Regions from separate parts of the Homo sapiens genome. Here region 2 is linked to region 1. Evidence: promoter capture Hi-C in 16 types of primary human blood cells and fetal thymus (Javierre and others, 2016). All regions are on one chromosome and are shown on one strand. The core of a region is centred on a gene start or on the middle of the fragment in contact, and the rest is flanking DNA. Distances in the headings are between cores, read along the strand shown.

Region 1 (3,219 bases), core at 393-2,892:
GCACAGCAAGGCGACTGTAGTGAATAATGATGTACATTTCAAAATGGCTAAAAGAGGATTTTAAATGTTCTCACCACAGATAAATGGTAAATATCATTTGATAGATGTGATAATTACCCTGATATGATTACACATTATATACATGTATCAAAATATTATAGCCCCATAAATATATACAATTATTTGTCAATTAAAAATGAAACTTTTTAAAAAGCAATTGATTTAAAAAAATTTTTTTAAGCCAGCGTGAGCCAAAGGGGCAAGACCAATGGGGCTGGAGCACCTCAAGCCCATGGTGGGCAGTGGTGGGTCAGAGCTGAGCCCGAGGGCCTGGTTTCTCATCTTCTTTCTCTCTTTTTTTCCTTTTGATCCACCCGGCCCCCAAACAAAAGTCAGTGCCTGAGTACACAGAGACATTTCTCCTTTCTCACTCTCTAGTGAAGAGACCCCATGTAACCACAGCAGGGGAGAGATGCCACCCAAGGTCATCCAGGGAGATGGGGGGGTTGGCATCAAGGACGAGCATGGGGAGTTTCTGTGGCTTGCCTGTGGGTTACGCTCTGTTACTCAGGCACACGTCTGTCTAAGGGAGCCCCCTGAGGGGTGCCTCACACAGCGAGGGCAATCTGTGTCACTACTGTGAACTCCTCCCTTGGTTTGGGAGTGGGAAGGTGCAGGGCTAACAGATGACATTTGGAAGGGCAGGAAATATTATCTGGCACCCACAGGCCTTCCCAGTGGGATCAGAGCCCAGGCAGCTGGAGGCCGATTTGGTGAACAAGAAAGAGCTCAAGGCCCTGGGTTCCAGTCCTGGCTCTGCAACAAGCTCTCTGCGTGATCTTGGGAAATTCACTTCCCTTTAATGCCGAGATGACGGACTGGGCAGCATGGTCCGGGTGGTCCCTTTCCACCCTGAGGTCATACAGCCCTGGGGTGAAGCTCAGGGTTGGCGGGCTCAGGCCTCACTTGTTCTCCTGCCCCTCCCTAATTCCCCCACCCGGCCTGACTGACAGCTGGGCCAGTCAGGGCTATTTATGGCTTTGCCTGATGTTGTGCTCCCCTGCGCCTCCCATGCTGGGCCCCACCCAGCTCGGGCCCAGCACCCACCTGCCCAGTCCACCAGCAACATCGCTGGGAGTCGTGCTGCTTTGGCTCTCCCAGAACAAGCCATGCCCTGGGGAAAGAACTCCTCTCCCCACTGGGGACACCATCTGGGGTGCCTTCCCTCCGCCCCGGCCTGCCGGATCTGGAGGCCCCACTCCCGCCCAGCCTGGGAGCCCCCTCGGCCATCACCACTGCTCTGCCAAGACATGGCCCTGCAGAATGCCCTCTACACCGGGGACCTGGCAAGGTTGCAGGAGCTGTTCCCCCCGCACAGCACAGCCGACCTGCTGCTGGAGAGCCGGGCCGCAGAGCCTCGCTGGAGCAGCCACCAGAGGGGTGAGGGGCATCTGGGGGTTGCTGAGAACCAGGGGGCTGGGCTGACTGCCTCGGCCACAGAGGTCCTAAGGGCTTGAGTGAAAGGAGAAGCCCCCGGCTGTTTCTCCCCGACCTCAAAGCTTGCCCAATAGCCTACACCTTGGCCCAAGAACACAGTCATGTGGAGCCCAGAATAGCTCCTGCTGGATGCGTGGCCAGGTCAGCCTCGGAGCGTGGGACACAGGGGCCTTCTGTCTGTCTGTATTTCCCTCCTGCTCTCTCTCTCTCTCTCTGCCTTTGGCATATACCTCTCCTCCTCCCCACTCCCCTTTCCCTGCCCACATGCTCATGAGTTGGTCTCCAGAAGAGTGCAAGGGGCAGGGAGAGCCCCTCGATGACAGACACCCCCTCTGTGCCAGGCTGGTGGAGAAGCCCAGCAGAGGGTCTGAGGAGCACCTCAAGTCTGGCCCGGGACCCATCGTCACCCGCACAGCCTCAGGACCTGCCCTTGCCTTCTGGCAGGCAGTGCTGGCTGGGGACGTGGGCTGTGTCTCCCGCATCCTCGCGGACTCCAGTACTGGCCTGGCTCCTGATTCCGTCTTTGATACCAGCGACCCAGAGCGATGGAGGGATTTCCGCTTCAACATCCGTGCTCTGAGTACGGGCCGGGGCACTGGGGGCTCTCAGTGGGAGAGAGGGGAGGCTGCAGATGGAGCTCTGGGCTCCCTCTTCCTGCCTCTGCCCACCTCACCCCATTGGCTGGAAGGTCTCTGCCTTCCCTGGGGATCTGAGGCCCACGTCTCCCCTCCCTAGGACTCTGGTCTCTGACATACGAAGAGGAGCTGACCACCCCACTGCATGTGGCAGCCAGCCGTGGCCACACGGAAGTCCTGCGGCTGCTGCTGAGGCGGCGAGCAAGGCCAGACAGTGCCCCTGGGGGCCGCACCGCCCTGCACGAGGCCTGTGCTGCAGGCCACACTGCCTGTGTTCATGTGCTGCTGGTGGCAGGAGCCGACCCCAACATCGCTGACCAGGATGGGAAACGCCCCCTGCATCTCTGCCGGGGGCCTGGCACCCTTGAGTGAGTGACCCCTCACCCCAACCCCCAGTTCCACTCTGAAGGGAAGCAAAGAGGCCTTCTCAGGGAGGATGGGGGAAAATGTCAGGGACCTGGGACAGAGCAGTCCAGGCTTGGGGCGCGGGTCAGGGTGCAATTACTTCCCAAGCCATCCACCCGTTGACCCCATGAACTTTGGAGTGGCCTGGACTTTGGACAGTTTTCTGGTCTCCCAGGGGTGGAGGGAGGCTGTGGCAGGGGTGCAGTTGCATGGCCCGCATTGGGAAATTGCCTGGCTCCATTATGGGGAGGTGGTGTTGCTTAAAATTTTTGAAAACACTTTCTGAGCTTATCCTATGTTCCAGGCACTGTGCTAAGCACAACAGCAACTAAGTCCCTGAGGCCCTGCCCTCAGGGAGCTTACTGTCCAGTGATCCAGACAGGGAGTAGAGGATGGTGGCCCCAGTGAGGACCTGCCTGGGTCCCTCTGGGTAGGGTCTGGTTTTCCAAGACAGGTCTAGAATCTCCATATTGGTAGGGCACCCTCAGATCATGGGCTCAAGGGACTCTCACTAACTAAACTCCCAAGAAACTGATGAATACACCCAAATGTGCCAATGTATCATTTATTGTAGGGAATAGTCCTTTGCAGTGACATAAATAATTGCAACCCAAGTGTAAGGAACGTTGTAGGATGGGATCCCAATTACAATTTTGTGAACTAACTCTACATCCTATAGAGG
Region 2 (3,219 bases), core at 319-2,818, 310 kb after region 1:
TGGGATGCTATTAGTAGGTATATCAGCTAATGTTGAAGACACTACTCTTAAATCAAGGAAAATATGATCAGAATAATAAATTTTTAAAGTATAGTGAACAAATTCTTCAGTAAGGCTGAAGGTTAAAAGTAAAAAGTTTCAAAGCAATACTTTTCTTGGCTCTTCTTTATAATAATTTATTGTCTAGTGAGCTACTAACCCTTTTTCTTTATGACTTGATTGCCCCCGTATGCTAAAATACTTGCTGTTTTACTTTTCCTTTCATTGACATTTACAATCCTTTGTCTTTTAGTAGTTTCACAAGCTTTGAAACAATGTTTAGATAATTTTAAAAAATAAAAATAAAACAATGCTAAGGGTACAATCATTGATGTTTTAAATATATCAGCTGCTATAAGGCACTTTGTCCAATTTTCATAATAATTTTGTCTTAATGGTGTTAAGAGCAAAGATTTAAGATTTACTTTCTTAGTGCCATAAAAATAAGAGCTATTCAGCTGGGTTTCTGAAATATTAAGTGCAATGCAAAAGTTTGTTTGCCTAATATCCCTGGACACCAGGCTTCCCAAAATATCCTGCCCCAGACCATAGCCACATCTTCCCACTAGATTCCTGGGCAACTAGAAACAATGGTAAAGGAAAACAAGGTCACACAATTTTTTTTGAGATGGAGTCTTGCTCTGTCACCCAGGCTGGACTGCAGTGGCGCGATGTCGGCTCACTGCAAGCTCAGCCTCCCTGATTCACACCATTCTCCTGCCTCAGCCTCATGAGTTGCTGGGACTACAGGCGCCCGCCACCACGCCCAGCTAATTTTCTTTTCTATTTTTCGTGGAGATGGGGTTTCACCATGTTAGCCAGGATGGTCTTGATCTCCGACCTCGTGATCCACCCGCCTCGGCCTCCCAAAGTGCTGGGATAACAGGCGTGAGACACTGTGCTCGGCTAAGGTCACACTAATTGTTAGCTGGGAGTGGACCCCAAACCTGTTGAAAGAACCCATCAGCTTTCCTTTAAGAAGGTAATGCCACAGACCACAACAGATAATTGAGGGTTATTCTGTGAGCTTCCACTAAAGCTAAAACATGTGTGGAAGGGACAGAAGAGAGGATAACAGGTTTGCTGGCCTGTTTACCACTTGGGGACGTTTGGATGGATGATGAAGAAGAAAAAGAATCAAAAGGACTGGGGCTCATCACAGGTGGGAATAGTATAATATTAGCTCTTCATTCAGAACCATGGTAGCAAAAAGAGAGAAAACTGCATCTGTGGACTGAATTATTCCCCTCAGCCCTCTACCCCAGTGTGTCTTCTTTTTGGGAATAGAGTAGAAAGCCAGGAAAATGGTGGGGATCTAGGAGGAAGCAGGCATCTCCTCTGACTTGCACGTCCCCCTGTTTCACTGTCCTTTGTTAACTCACTGTGTTTGACAGCCACATCTGTGGTCAGCCAGGGGTGCAGCTGCTCCTACTGGTAGCTAATGGCCATAGAACACCAGGGGCGTCTTAAAGCCCCTTCTGTGATCCGCACCACTGCTCCTGGGTATACTCCCAGGGTCTGTTATATGGGTAACATGCACCTCGCAGCAAGATCTCCTGAAATGGGTTAGGACAGGAATATTAGGTAATTGCAAACCCATACTTCCCACCATTCTTGTCTTCAATTATGGCCAATTACATAGTTACGGCAGCCTTGTATTGTTACAATACAATCTTCCTCTATGCTTAGGAACCTCTATGGAGATGGTTGTGTTACTTCAACCAAAGACAAGAAGAGACTAATCTGCAGAATTAGAACAATTCCCTAGTTCTTCAACAAATCAGTGCTGCTTTTCTTGCCAATAATAGACGTGTTTGTATTTCTCCGTGGAAACCCTTGGGGTAAACATGTTGCTTGTTCTTCCAATAAAGAATTGAACCACCAGAGGGCCTCAGGCGACTCAGGAGGTTTGGGAAGAGACAAAGGCACATGCTTAGAGGGTCTGGAGAAGGCGAGGAAGAAGGAAGGGAGCCAAGTAAAACATGTGACTGACCAGGGGCTTTGGAGAAGACAAGCCCTGCAGGAAGGCACGCATGTGGTCATTCTGTCTGTAGCCTCCCATTCCTCCCTGCTTTCCCCAGCTGCATCTACCTGGATCCTGAATTTGAACCAAGTGGTCCAAACGGCCCGGTCACCTGAGCAACCCCTCTGCAGGAACCGCAGGTGTGGGCGGGGTGGTGGGGAGGAGGCGGGGGGGTGGGGGAAAGGCGGGGGGTGGGGGGAGCTCAGCGGCGCCATCTAGCGTCCAGACAGCGGTGGCTCTGGGAAAGCTGATTGTTTTCTTAGCCAGAGGAGGAAGAGAAGGTTGGTCCTCAGCGCCTGGACGCCTGGTAGACGATAGGGGATGACATGATGAGTAAAATAAGGACAGGAACACGCCGAATCCCCTTTCATAATGATAGGACCACGCCAAATCCCCTTTCTTTTTAAAATTTGACATATACCCTTGAATATATATGTATTCTTATAAAATATGGTTATCTGGTATGTATTTATGTATATTGATATAAAGCTGCAGATTTAAAAATAGTACTTCTTTCATCTCTCTCCATCTACATAGTCTTCGTGGTTTTCAGTAAAATGATAATTTCTGGATTACTTAGATGTAGTTATTATGATCCAACCCTTGAATAAGGGGAGTTGAGAGTTGGTGAAACATCCCTGTCTCAATATTTGTTCATGCCATATTTCCTTTGAAAGAATTTACAGATAAAGGCATCAAATACCTGAAAAAGTAACAAGTTTACTATATTTTACTTGAGAATTTGTATATATATTTTTAAGAAAGCTTTTTAGTTTTGGCGTAATTATAAACTCACAAGAGGTAGCAAAAAGAGTACGGAGTTCTGTGAACCTTCAACTGGATTTCTCTAATGGTGACATCTTGCAATGGACTGAGTATGTCTCCCTCAAATTCATGTGTTGAAATCTTAATCTCCATAGTGGTAGCATTAGGAGATGGGGCCTTTGGAAGGTGATTAGGTCACAAGGGCAGTGCCCTCACAAATGAGATTAATGCCCTTATAAAAAAAAAAAAAGACCGCAGAAAACTCTCTTGTCCCTTCCACCATGTGAGGACGCAGTGGGAAGATGGCCAGTCCATGCACCAGGAAGCAGGCCCTCCCCAGACACTGAAGCTGCCAGGGCCTTGATCTTGGACTTCCAGCCTCCAGAACTGTG

The links. Contacts are between HindIII fragments. The CHiCAGO score rates a contact against its expected background, and 5 or more counts as called.
Region 2: a contact is called between a fragment that was not itself captured here and the fragment with the promoter of ASB10 in region 1, in 2 of 17 cell types (erythroblasts and M2 macrophages). The highest score is 6.9, in erythroblasts.

Annotation. Positions count from the first base shown.
Region 1 is chr7:151,185,673-151,188,891 of GRCh38, reverse strand. ASB10 (ankyrin repeat and SOCS box containing 10) reads left to right here and starts at 1,642. Exons shown (of 6, transcript NM_001142459.2): 1 at 1,642-2,077; 2 at 2,233-2,500. The coding sequence starts at 1,762. RefSeq lists an enhancer at 555-644. The HindIII fragment of the contact is 17,456 bases long and covers 1,562-3,219 here.
Region 2 is chr7:150,875,992-150,879,210 of GRCh38, reverse strand. LOC105375567 (a long non-coding RNA gene) reads left to right here and starts at 2,081. Exons shown (of 5, transcript XR_928171.3): 1 at 2,081-2,202. The HindIII fragment of the contact is 2,523 bases long and covers 307-2,829 here.